Linked DNA regions of Homo sapiens: region 2 is linked to region 1. Evidence: promoter capture Hi-C in 16 types of primary human blood cells and fetal thymus (Javierre and others, 2016). All regions are on one chromosome and are shown on one strand. Each heading gives the region's core, a stretch centred on a gene start or on the middle of the fragment in contact. The rest is flanking DNA. Distances are from core to core; before and after follow the strand shown. Region 1 holds the start of H4C7 (H4 clustered histone 7). Region 2 has its middle 10 kb from the start of H2BC11.

Region 1 (6,536 bases), core at 3,414-5,913:
TTCTTTTTTTGTCAATGGTAATTCATTACATACACTGTTCCACAAATATTCTTCAACTTGGGGTTTCCTCTTCAAGAAGCCTTTACCTGATTCCTATGGGCAAAATCGGTGTCTGGGGTTTCCTTACAATTCACGAAGCACACTCTACACATGTCCCTAGCCCTACTTCAGAATTCCCTATACGACTTAGGAGCTACTGCACACTTAAATAGTTGGGAGTAATTCTTGCCCTCTTCCCAAGATATTTTCAGGTCTTGAACAATGTCTTTAATTTAGTATCCTCAGGATGTAGTATTTAGTTCATAAATGTTTGTGCAATGACTGAAGGAATCAATGAAATTAAGCTATCTGGGCCATCACCAATATACCGTTATAAAAATCATTCCCCTTTAATTAAGCAATATCTCTACTCCCACAGAACCATCTTCTCTATTCACCTTTACACAAATGTCAATATTCATGGCTGCCAACAATTTATATTACAGACTTTTTAAAATGCAGATTGAGATCCATTCACGGGTAATGAAAATAATTTAGTGGGTCCCAACCAGCATATAAAACGTAAATAGAATCCAATATAACAACTAGAAATTATCAAAGTATCCCATCTAGTAAGTAAAAATATTGTGTCATAAAATTTTAGTTTCAAATAGATGTACTTTTGGTTTTACTTTGGAACTTGAAGGAGAAAAGGTTCAAAAGATACTGGTCCATTTATTTAATGTATATATTTGTCAAATTCTCAGGTTAGGACATTGCCTCACTTCCCTGGGTTTCAGAACTTCAATACTCAGCCTCATTTGCAGCTGGAATGCAGATCTGTAACCTAGGCTTCACCAATGAGTCACAGGTTTAAAAGACTTATCTTCAAAAATGGGACCCAGGAGAGAAGAGACTGCCTAAAGCCTCTGTTTCTGCTGTGACAGATGTCAGATGGGCCAACTTTTGGTAGTAGCAGCAGCCATAGGTTACAGGTGAGTCAAGTTCTGATTCAGAAATAACAGGTGTGACACACCAGCACCTGACTAGTTCTGCAGCACAGCTTTGGAGTTTGTCCCTGGGAGTGTCATCAGGCGTGGTTCTACAGCCCTCCCAAGAATGCTAATATCTATTCAATATCCCTTTAAACATCACAGTTAATGTGCGATTACCAGTCAGCTGGCAACTAAGAATTTAGAGTTTCAAACAAAAAGGGTTTTAACTATTTTCTAATGGACTTTTGTGTATTTTAGGAATTCGGAGTCGTTTTACAACACTATTAAAAGGTTTTATGCCTTACTATACTTCTGGTAGCAATAATGCCTCCCCCCCAGATGCCCGCATCTTAATCCCAAAAGCTGCGAATATGTTTCCTTAAATGGTAAAAGTAACTTTCCAATGTTATTAAATTAAGGCTTTTGAGATTGGATGATTCTGGATTACCTGAGTGGTGCCATTGTAATCACAAGGATCCTTATAAGTAGAAGCGAGGAGAGTCAGAGTCAGAGAAGTGATAAGGGTAATGGAGTGTGATGCCTTTTGTAAACAGAGGAAGGGGCCACACTAGTTGCCCTTTGTTTCCTGAAACACATAAAGCTTTTCTCACCTTGAGATTTTCCACTTGCATGTCCTCTGGCCCAGAACATCCTTGGCGTGGCTCCCAATCTATGTGTGACTTCACACAAGAGCAGTGATATTTAAGCCAGTCATTTTGGCTACAATTCACTGTTTAAACACTATGTCATACTTTACAGGGCCATAGAAAATTATGGCAATTGCTGGAATGTTGTTTGACAGAATAGAGTGGAGAAACCCTGAAAGGTAAAAAGCTTGGCTTTGACAGAAAAAATAAATAACAATGAGAAAATGTGTATCCTAGAAAGGGTTTTTAAATTCTAGATTGACTCTTGCATTAAAATCTATTTTTAAAAAGTTTTGTTGTGTTCTGCTTCATGTGTTTGTTGTTGTTAAACAATGATTATTGTGTCGTTTCATTTACCCCTATGAAAGTGAAATAATACAAATCAAACATACACCATTGTAAGTTAAAAACTCATAGATTGAGAAAGTAAATATTTAATTCTGTGGAATTAAGTATATAAAGTTTTTCTTATATAAGAGTCTGTAGATCCTGTGTGGTTTACAGAAAAATTTAACTTTGACACCGTCTCTACAAGCTGTTTCCAGTGGCAAGGCAAAGGATTGGCCAAAAAAAAAAAAAAAAAAAAAACATATAATAGAAACACAGAACTGTTCACGACGTTTATTTTATGAAACATGGAAGTGGTGTCATTTCCTCATAAAGTGTCTTCCAGTAGGACCTCTAGACTTATTTCCACTTTCTCCTCCAAGCCCTGGGCTTTGGGAGACTAACTGTATGGTTCTGACCAATATGCTACCCAGACCTCCACCTTCTGGAAGGATTCAGCCAGTGGAAACCCCATGCAGGAGACTGGAGGAAAGGAGGAAAATGAGATGGGGTATTTATTCCCCAGTTTCCCTTTCATTGGCTGTTAGCAGCATCTCTCCAGACCAGGGATCCCTCTCTCTGCAGCTATAGCAATTGCTTCCCATGCCCCTTCAGGGTTATAAGTGATCCTTACTAGACCTGGATGGAGGCACTACTTTTTTAGTTTTCTGTATCCTGCCCTTAATTTGCAAATAATTTCTTTAAGAAACCCTCCTCCAATTATCCCATGTGAGTAAGCTACTTGTTTCCTGTCTTGACCTTAGCAGAACCCAATATTTTCACTACACAGCACAAAGTTTATGGCCATAATATCCAAAAGAATTGATGTAACTTAAATGCAAGTTTCTCCATGTCACACCTCATTAACATGCTTCCAACAGCATAAGGTTAATTCTCAGTTTCTCAATTTGCAAGAGGAGGCCCTCCTCAATCAGGCAACTGCCAGGCATGCATCTTTGGTCATATATGTATTCCCAGTCTCCATGGCATCAAACTACTTATTGCCCCTTGTGTCTTCACACTAGTGGAGACCTACCCTCTCCCAACAGTACCTGAACTGCCCTGTTCCCATGTCCCTCCCCTCTGGCTAACAGCTGATCATGATGAGTGAGAGCAAGAGGAATAAATGTGCCTGCATATGACAAGTGTCATGCGGCTCAGTGTCCTGCTACTTGCATCCTCTCTCTGCAGACAGGTCTTTTACACTTACCTGTTCAGAGACCTCTCCCGTGATGGCACCAGAGTTTGTAACAGTTTATTATGTTAATTTTTCCCAAATTTTTATTATAAAAATATTCAGAATAAAACATAACAAAAGATGGGTTTATCAGTCATCCACTACCTACATTCAATAGAGTGGATTTTACCACCATCCGAAAGTAAATGACAGACTCATGAGAATTTACACCTACACACTTCAGCATCTAACCCCTAACAATAAGGGAAATTCCATGTAATCTCAATATATCAAACCTTTCTTTAAAAACTTACTAAAATGACCTGTTATCCAGTTCACGTTCAAGTTTCCTTGATTATCTCCAAAATGCCCTTTAAAACTTTAGAGACAGAATGCAATTAATACATTTAGTTGCTATGTTACTTTAATCTCCTTCAAACTTAAAGTCCTCCAGTTTTTCTCGGTGGCTTTTTGAACAAAGCAATTGTCCCAAATGTTCCACATTCTGGAAGGTTTTTTCCCCCTCTTGAGATGTTTAATTGGCTCTTTGACCCCTGTACTTTCATAAACAGTAAATTGAGACACGAATTATTGCAGTTACACCTTATCAAGGTGTTTCTATATTTACGATGGATCACAAGCAAAGGCACGAAACAGGTAAACTTCTTTTAGTGCTGCTAAATTAGATCATTGAACTAGCAAGGGGGCCAGTCCCTCCACTGCAGACACATTTGTCAGAACGGCACCTGGCAAGTTTGTGCTAATTATTGTGTATTCTCTGGTTATTGAAATTGCTTATTAAGCAGAATATAAAAGTCGGGTTATCTTGGCACTAAAACTACAATTTTAATTACGGAGGGTAATCCTAACAGTAAGGAGAAAAACACACTACCATAACCACATTTTGAGAGCTTTTAAGTGACAATGTAGCCGTTGATGTCCTCAGCCAGCCCACCAGATTTCTAATCTCTGAACACACGATTAACTTACCACCTGTATTCCATGTTGTATGTCAGCCTTGGCGTAAATTTATACTTTACAGCATTATACACCTAACAGCTTTTGGGCACCTACAGCAATAAAACACACAATATTGCTGAGTGCGTTAGTTAAGTTTCCACAATGTCAAACGTGAGCCCTTCGGAAGAAAACGTACGCGGCCCTGAAAAGGGCCATTAACGATATTGCAAGGAAAGGCCTGGCCTCACTTAACCGCCAAAGCCTTACAGGGTTCTTCCCTGGCGTTTGAGCACGTAGACCACGGCCATGGCGGTGACCGTCTTGCGCTTGGCGTGCTCCGTGTTGGTCACGGCGTACCAGATCACATTTTCCAGGAACACCTTGAACACCCGGCGGGTCTCCTCATAAATGAGGCCCAAGATGCGCTTGACACCGCCATGCCGGGCCAAGCGCCGGATAGTGCACTTGGTAATGCCCTGAATATTATCGCTCAGTACCTTGCGATGGCACTTGGCACCGCCTTTCCCAAGGCCTTTTCCGGCCTTGCCCCGAACAGACATGATAAACAAGTCAGAACTATCTCTAAACAAAACGATTACTCGCTTTCCGCAGCCTTTTATATAACGGTAGAGTAGACCTTTTTGAAAACTGAAAGACCAGGAAAGGCGGGAAAACGTATTCAGTCCCCGCTCATCTACTTCTAGTAATAACAAGACATAAGAAATTCTCTTGTAGTAGGGAGATTTGCTGGCATTTAGAGAATAAGGATCTCTAAACGAAAGTGTCAAACATGTACCTAGAGGAAAGTATCTCGATTTTTGATGTCTGTATGTGTTTAAAGATTTACTCCTGGCCGGGCGCGGTGGCTCACGCCTGTAATCCCAGCACTTTTGGAGGCCGAGGCGGGCGGATCACGAGCTCAGGAGATCGAGACCATCCTGGCTAACACGGTGAAACCCTGTCTCTAATAAAAATACAAAAAATTAGCAGGGCGAGGTGGCGGGCGCCTGTAGTCCCAGCTATGCAGGAGGCTGAGGCAGAAGAATGGCATGAACCCCGTGGGGTGGAGCCTGCAGTGAGCCGAGATCACGTCACTGCACTCTAGCCTGGGCAAGGGCGAAGCCCGTCTCAAAAAAGAAAAAAAAAAGATTTACTCCTTCCCTGTATATTAGAGCATTTACCATGCTGAAGTTGAAACAAGCCCAAATTCCAAGACATAAAAGAATTCCTAATCATATTGCCAAGCCGCCCAGCTAAAGAGAAGTAGCCTGGTTTTTGGTTTCGAATCTGTGAGTGACTGCTCTCTCACCGATATTAGACATGTTAATCTGAGTTTCAATGGCCCTATCTGTAAAAAGGGTAAATACTTGTTAATAATTGAGTTACTTTAAGCAAAACACTGGCATATAGTTAGTAAATGATTTTTTTTTAAAATACGGAGTTTCGCTCTTGTTGCCCAGGCTGGAGTGCAATGGCGCAATCTCTGCCCACTGCAACCTCCACCTTCTGGGTTCAAGCTATTCTCCTACCTCGGCCTCCCAAGTAGCTGGAATTACAGGTATGTGCCACCACTCCCGGCTCATTTTTGTATTTTAGTAGAGACCAGATTTCACGTTGGCCAGGCTGGTCTCCAACTCCTGCCCTCAGGTGATCCGCCCGCCTTGGCCTCCCAAAGTGCTGGGATTACAGGCGTGAGCCACCTCACCGGCCAGTTGGTAAACGAATTCTTATTGCCACAGCCTTTTTTTACAGACAAAATAATAATGCAGAGGTAAAGCACACCGAAGGATTTTAAAACATTGCCTTTGCAACACCAATACATTCAGTGTGCTTTCACTTATATTAAGCACTATACAATTAAGCAATGAAGAATTGCCCAGAAAAAAGATAATGTAAATTGCCAGAGGCTCCATGCCCTGTTCTCATGTGGAGGACAGAAGGTACAGGGGGTGACTGTCTTCTGGGGTTGATACAACAGGAAACTCAGGGAAAGCTGTCATAAATGTTAATAGGAGAAAAGGGGAATTTGCTCACAAGCCAAAATAAAGACATAAGCACCACTAAATTTTTACATTACAAAATACTTGCTGAGCTAGTTAAACGAGAGCATTTAAGTGGAAATAAATGATGTCTCTAAAATAGAATGTTCAAAATAACAATGGATTTTTTATTGTGCAGTTACGATGCACCAAACAAACAGTCCTAAAGATCATGGGTTTTTGAAGCAGGGTCAGCAATATCTAAAAAATCATGTAACTGCATAAATGAATTATGGCCTAATGAGCAGGTCACCACAACAAAAAGCCAAGAGTGCAAACAACTATTTGTGGGGAAAACAAACAAACAAACTTGATAAACCATGGAATTCCAAGCAATAAAAGCAGCAATCCCATCACAGCCTATTTCTACATTATTTTGAAATAATTAGATTTTTTTTTTTTTTTTTTTTTT
Region 2 (7,153 bases), core at 1,613-4,112, 870 kb after region 1:
ATAACATATTATATATATATATATTTTGCATGTGGATATTCAATTTTTCTAACACTACTTTTTGAAAAGACTATCCTTTCCACCAGGATGCCTTTGGGCCTCTTTCAAACATCAGTTGTTTATATACATGTTGGTTTGTTTCTGGATTCTCTATTGTGTTCCATTGACCTACTTGCCTATCTTACAACCATACCATGCTGTCTGGCTTTCTGAAGCTTTATAATAATTCTGTGAAATGAGGTAGTTGATAGCCATCCAGGTTTGTTCTTTTTCGGAGTTGTTTTGGCAACTGTAGATCCTTTTCATTTCCATATTAATTTTGGAATCAGATTGCCAATTTCTGCAAAGAAACCTCCTGGGTTTTGACTGGGTTAGTGTTGAATTTGTGTATTCGTTTGAGAATAATTGTTATCTTAACAATACTGAGTTTTCTGGCCTATAAGCAAGTTTTATCTCTCCAAGTATTAAAGTCTTCTTCAATTTCTCTCAGAAATATTTTGTAGTTTTCAGTGTATAGATATTTCACATCTTTTCTCAAACTTATCCCTAAGTATTTCATATTTTAGTTTTATTATAACTTTTTAAACATTTCTGATTGTTACTAGTATATACAAATGCAGTTTTTAATATTGATCTTGCATCCTACAGCCTTTCTGAACTCAACCATTAACTCTAGTAGCTTTTTGTACATTCTGATTTTCTACATGAGATGGCCATGTCATTTGAGAATAATAAGTGCTATCTTCACAATTTAGATGATTCTTCTTTCCTTCCATTGTTCCTTCTTTTCTTTCCTCTTTCTTTTTTCCCCTAATTTCACTAGCTAGAATTTCCAACATTGAATAGAAGTGGTGAAAGCAAACATGACTATCTTGTTTACGACCTTAGGGGGAAAACATTCAGTCTTTAAGTATAATCTTAGTTGTAGATTTTTTGTAAATACACTTTATCACATTAGGAAGTTCTCCTCTATTTCTAGTTTACTGAGAGTTTTCATCAGTAATGAATGTTGAATTATGTCAAATGCTTTTTCTGCCTTATAGTGTGACAGTCCTCCACCAGCTTGCTTAAGGGTGATATCTGCTACTTGAACCCTGAAGGCTGGGTGATAAGCCAAGACCATGGTACCCAGCTGAGGAGCAGGTATCCCTGAGAACCCAAACATCCCAGAGAGTATCTGATCAAGGAAAACAGTCTCCTTGCCTAAACACAGTAGGCAAAGACCAGAACATTAGCTTAAAAGCAGCTTAGAGATGGTGGCAACACAGCTCTCTAGAGCTGTCTTGCTGCCGTCCAGGAATGCCCTGTATATAAGTCCTAATAAACTCATCTACTTATCAAGCTGAACTTGTCCAAGTCATACTTTGGTCTCTCGGTTCCTTCTGAGTTTGGGAGAAATGTTACAGTCCCACGTTTTTCTTGTAACATTCCTCTGTTGAGATTTCTTAGTTTGTTAATATGGTATATTATGTTGATTGATTTTTCTAATGTTTAACCAACTCTACATTTTTTGGAAAAGCCAGGAATACTTGATCATGATGTATTATTCTTTTTACATATTACTGAATTTGAATTTTCTAAAATTTTGTTTAGAACCTTTGTATCTCTGTTCATGAAGGATATTGGTCAATAAGTTTCTTTGTTTATATTTGTCCAGTTCTAGTATCAAGATGATGTTGCCCTATGGAACGAATTAAGTTAACCAATATTTTAAGAAGCCAGATAGTAAATATTTTAGGCTGTGCAGACAATAAGGTCTCTGTCACAACAACTCAACTTTGCTGTTCTGGTGGGAAAGTAGACATAGATAATACACAAATAAGTGAATGTGGTTGTGTTCCAATAACACTTTTTTTGAAAATCAGGTGGTGGGTCATATTTGGTCTGTGGGCCATAGTTTGTTGACCTCTGAGTTAGGAAGTATTTCTTCCTGATTCTAACACTTCTATGAAAATGAAAAGCCAATTATAAAGAAGAACACAGTTGGAGAACTTACACTATAAGTTGCCAACCCCTATCTTAAACTATGGTAATGAGAATGATTGCTATTGAGCCAGAAACATGTGTGTAGTCACCTGATTCATGAGAAAGGTAACACTGCAGTGCAAGGGTTGTCTTTTCAACAAATTACGTTAGTTAGGTCAATGATATGTCCATATGGAAAAGTCCATATGGAAAAAATTGTTACAAATCGATAAGTACAAATAATTTAAAAATGGGCAAAGACATGAACATTCTCTTCCACTAAATGACATTCAATGTATATGAAGCATATGAATAGGTACACAATATTATGACTCATCAGGAAACTGAAAATGAAAGCAACAGTGAGATATCACTAACACATCCTATTCAGAAAGGCAAAACTTAAAGCCTAACAAGATAAAGGCAAAAATTTGAAGCAATTAAAATCATCTTATATTATAGGAGTTTGAATTGGTTTATACATTTTAGAAAAATATTTGTCAGTGTTTACTAAACCTAAATATATGGTTACCTTAAAAACTGTTAATTCCATTCCTATTATATGCTCAAAAGAAATGAGCACAGGCTGGGCGCAGTAGCTTATGCCTGTAATCCCAGCACTTTGGGAGGCCGAGGCGGGTGGATCACAAGGTCAGGAGATCAAGACAATCCTGGCTAACATAGTGAAACCCTATCTCTACTAAAAATACAAAAAATTAACCGGGCATGGTGGCACCCACCTGCAGTCCCAGCTACTCGGGAGGCTGAGGCAGGAGAATCACTTGAACCTGTGAGGCGGAGGTTGCAGTAAGCCGAGATTGTGCCACTGCACTCCAGCCTGGATGACAAACTGAGAATCCGTCTCAACAAAAGAAATGGGCACATATGTACACCAAAAAACATACACAAAAATATTCATAAAACTTATATTCATAATAGGGAAAAAGATAAGCTAAAAGCAACTGAAAAGTAACCAAGGCCATTACATTTTAAATTATTAACATTTCCTGAAATTGTCTTCTAAAACAATGTCTTCTTTTAATTCTTAAAAGTACAGATGAACACTTTAGTCCTAATGACATCATCATTTACAGAACATGGTGAGTTAACCAAATATTTTACCATGTATGTATAAATCTCAATAAAACAAAGAAGTTTTAGAATTCAAATCTATAAACTTTAAAGTATTGACTTTGTAACATGATTAATTTAAAAGTAAATTAAAATAAATGAGTTTGTGCCTGGCATCGTGGCTCACGTCTATATTCCCAGCATTTGGGAGGCTGAGATGGGCAGATCACCTGAGTTTGAGTTCGAAACCAGCCTCAACAACATGGAAAAACCCTGTCTTTACCAAAAAAAAAAAAAAAAAGAAAAAAAAATTGGCCAGGTATAGTCCCAGGTACTTGGGAGGCTGAGGTGGGAGGATCACTTGAGCCTGGGAGGCAGAGATTTCAGTGAGCCAAGAATGCATCATTGCACTCCAGCCTGAGCAACAGAGCCAGACCCTGCCTCAAAAAGAAAATATATATGTATATTAGTTTGATAAACTCCAATATAACTTTTTTACATAAAATTGATTTTTTAAGTTTATAAATATAAATATTTAAATATGATATTTAAATCCAATTTTGCTGGAAAGCCTAAACACAATGTGGAAGCTATTGACTTGTCCCATTATCAATCTTACATACTATTATAAAATAAATGATATACCATTATAGCTTCTCCCAACTATCCAAATGCTTATGGGTTAGGTGTGAAACCTACAAGATGAAGCAAATGAGGCTTTATCTAGGGGTGACAGTTTTATGGAAAGAAATGAGTATCAGGGAAGGCTACACAATGCAAAAACAAAATTCTGTGAGGACTTGAACCCAAGGCATTTTGCTTACCAGACAAGTAAGTTGAATGACAAAGCAACAATTCCCTGTCATAAAAGTTAATTTATTTGCTATTACAGTATAGACATTTTAAAACACACCAGAAGAATTTTAGAGTTTGAAAATGACAAGTTGCATTTTGTTTTGAGCAGGAAACATATCAAGACAAACTTCCTTCATACTAGACAGTATTGTAATCCCAGCGACTCAGGAGGCCCAAGCAGGAGGACCACTTCAGGCCAGGAATTTGAGATTAGCCTAGGAAACATAGCGAGACCTCGTCTCTAAGAAAATAAATTAGTCATTGTAGTAGCACACACCTGTAGTTCTAGCTACTTGGAAGGCTGAGGTAGGAGGATGACTTGAGCCCAGGAGTTTGAGGCTGCAGTGAACCATGATCACGCCACTGCACTCCAGCCTGGGTGATAGATCGAGACCCCATTTCTGGGAGGGTGGGAAAACCAGACATTGACAAGGCCTGAGCAGAGGAGGCTGCCAACTGTAGAAATTGCAAGTTATAAAGAAATTCTCTGTTTTCTACCTTGACAGCTATAAAAAGTCGCTCTAAAGAAAAAGAACCAGCTCTGGCCAGGCGCAGTGGCTCACACCTGTAATTCCAGCACTTTGGGACACCAAGGCAGGTGGATCACTTGAGGTCAGGAGTTTGAGACCAAGCCTGGCCAACATGGTGAAACCCTGTCTCTACTAAAAATACAAAAATTAGTGGAGTGTGGTGGTGCTCGCCTATAGTCCCAGCTCTCAGGAGGCTGAGGCAGAATTGCTTGAATCAGGGAGGCGGAGGTTGTGGTGAGTCAAGATTGCACCACTGCACTCCAGCCTGGGTGACAGAGTGAGAAAGAAAAGAAAAGAAGGAAAGAAAAGACAGGAAAACCAGTTATTTCCACTGTTTTCACAGAACAAATCAACAGACTGAAGTTTACTCGTGTCAACAGTGTGTGAGGTTACAATGTGATACTTACTATTCTTGAGATGGAAATGTTCAGAAAAGAAGCCACATAAAGCACATGGTGGAAGAGCAAAAATGCAAAACAGGCTTAAAGAACTGTGAGAGTTTAGAAAAAAGCAATAGATCAAAGGGATCAAGAATGGGCATTAGAAGATGAAACTGAAGACAGAATAGGGAGTAGGGGGTTCCAGGCATGGAAATAGGATATTCTGTATGAGGAAAAGAGAAGAACCTCTTTAGTTGGGCATGAAACATACATTCTAAGTAGAAATAATTTTTTTTTTCTTGAGATGACATCTAGCTCTGTCACCCAGGCTGGAGTGCAATGGCACAATCTTGGTTCACTGCAACCTCCGCCTCCCAGGTTCAAGCGATTCTCCTGCCTCAGCCTCCAAGTAGCTGGGATTACAGGTGCCCGCCACCACGCCCTGCTAATTTTTGTATTTTTAGTAGAGACGGGGTTTCACTGTGTTGGCCAGGCTGGTCTCTAACTCCTGACCTCGTGATCCGCCTGCCTTGGCCTCCCAAAGTGCTGGGATTACCGGCATGAGCCACCGTGCCTGGCCCGGTAGAAATAATTTTTAAAAACTTATCTGGAAAAATGTATATAGAAACAAGTAATGGTTTAAAACCCAGACTAAAAGGATACAAGCTCTTTTGAAAAACTTTGAGTAGAGAAGTTGCTTTCTCAGACTAAGCTTTGAAGTGTATTTCTTATCTGTCAGGAAGGTTGGAAGATGGCGAGCCTAGAAGTGGAGAAACCAGAAACTTTTCAAACAAGGAAGGGCCCCAGATGCTAGGCCATGTTCCTTCAGCCTCTGAAGTCAGCAGTGAATACATGTGACACAGGATTTCCTCCATAATGCTATGTGCCACGAATGCATGAAGGAATGAATGAAAAGAAAGCAAATGTGTGGGAATAATCTACAAGAGTTGGTAAGTCATTGGAGGTGGAGATGTATATCTAATGGGTGGGAATGCACAAATTTGTAAATATGTGTCAAGTGTACCATTGGGTACATGCGGACAAGGAATGTGGAGGGAACAGGAGCTGATACGTGAGAAGGAGCACATTTCAGAATCAAAACTATTCTGCTTTCTAGTACTGGCTTTGCCACTTATCAATCTTGTGACTTAAGGAAGTTTTCTACTCTGAGTCTCAGCTTCATCTCTAAAATGAGGATAATGATAACTGTTTGTGAAAAATATTAAGTTGGATAAAATAAAACAATGTAAATGACTCAATTTTTTTTTTCTGAGACAAAGTCTTCCTATGTCTCCCAGGCTGGAGTGCAGTGGTGTGATCTCGGCTCAGTGCAAGCTCCGCTTCCTGGGTTCACGTCATTCTTCTGCCTCAGCCTCCCAAGTAGCTGGGACTACAGGCTCCCGCCACCACGCCCGGCTAATTTTTTGTATTTTTAGTAGAGATGGGGTTTCACCGTGTTAGCCAGGATGGCCTCAATCTCCTGACCTCGTGATCCACCCACCTCGGCCTCCCAAAGTGCTGGGATTAGAGGCATTAGCCACCGTGCCTGGCCATGACTTACACTTTATTGTCCCCTAATACATAGCCCTGAATAGATGGCGGTGACTTTTTATAATAAGGTCCTTTTGGTGATATTTTCAAGAGGAGTGTCTCAGGCCATGTGGTTGCAAGTGCAGATTTAAAATAAGGAGAAATCTAGGCTAGAAACAAGTTTGCCAGCATTCATCCTTTCAGCTGTACTACGTCACCTACTCTGCACTAGGGCCAGAGAGGAAACAATGGCTGGTGAAAGAGCAACTGATATTTCTGAAGGCGGGAAGACATAAATAATTAGAACAAAAGAGAGGGTGAGCAAGGAATAGTGTTGACAGCGCAGCCCTCAAGTCTTGGGTCCTTCTAAGTGCAGGATGGAAAAGGAAGCATTGATGATACATAAATTCTTACAAGCCAATGTTTCTCTTCTAGGAGAAATGGAAACTCAGAAATCAGTGCTCTCAAAGAAGGGAAATTAGGTATGATTTCTTGGGAGCCACAACCCAACAAGGCTTTCCAAATAATACAGTCCTGAATTTGAGCCTCAGAGAAGGCAGGTATATTTTCAAGTCATGCACTGTATCAATTGCCTTTTTTTGGTACATAAAAGAAAATACTGTATATGCTAATAATCATTAACAAAAAAACATTCAGGTAAAAAGAAAAAATCTGAGTTTTAACAAAACTGAAAAACACTCAGAAGAGGACTATATGGAATGACAATTTGTTTTTCATCTTCTGGATCATCCCCTGAGGAAAGTAAAGAAATTTCCCTCAGGATATTCCAGTTGGCAACAGCAGAGCAGAGGAATATTACTT

What was found. Contacts are between HindIII fragments. The CHiCAGO score rates a contact against its expected background, and 5 or more counts as called.
Region 2: a fragment that was not itself captured here is called in contact with the fragment with the promoter of H4C7 in region 1 in 1 of 17 cell types (erythroblasts); the score reaches 5.5 in erythroblasts.

What each region holds. Positions count from the first base shown.
Region 1 is chr6:26,242,333-26,248,868 of GRCh38, forward strand. It overlaps H4C7 (H4 clustered histone 7), which reads right to left and starts at 4,664. Exons shown (of 1, transcript NM_003547.3): 1 at 4,279-4,664. The coding sequence starts at 4,645. The coding sequence ends at 4,349. The HindIII fragment of the contact is 5,476 bases long and covers 1,807-6,536 here.
Region 2 is chr6:27,118,761-27,125,913 of GRCh38, forward strand. No RefSeq gene overlaps it. Among named protein-coding and RNA genes, the nearest start is that of H2BC11, 10 kb to the right of the region's middle. The HindIII fragment of the contact is 5,298 bases long and covers 214-5,511 here.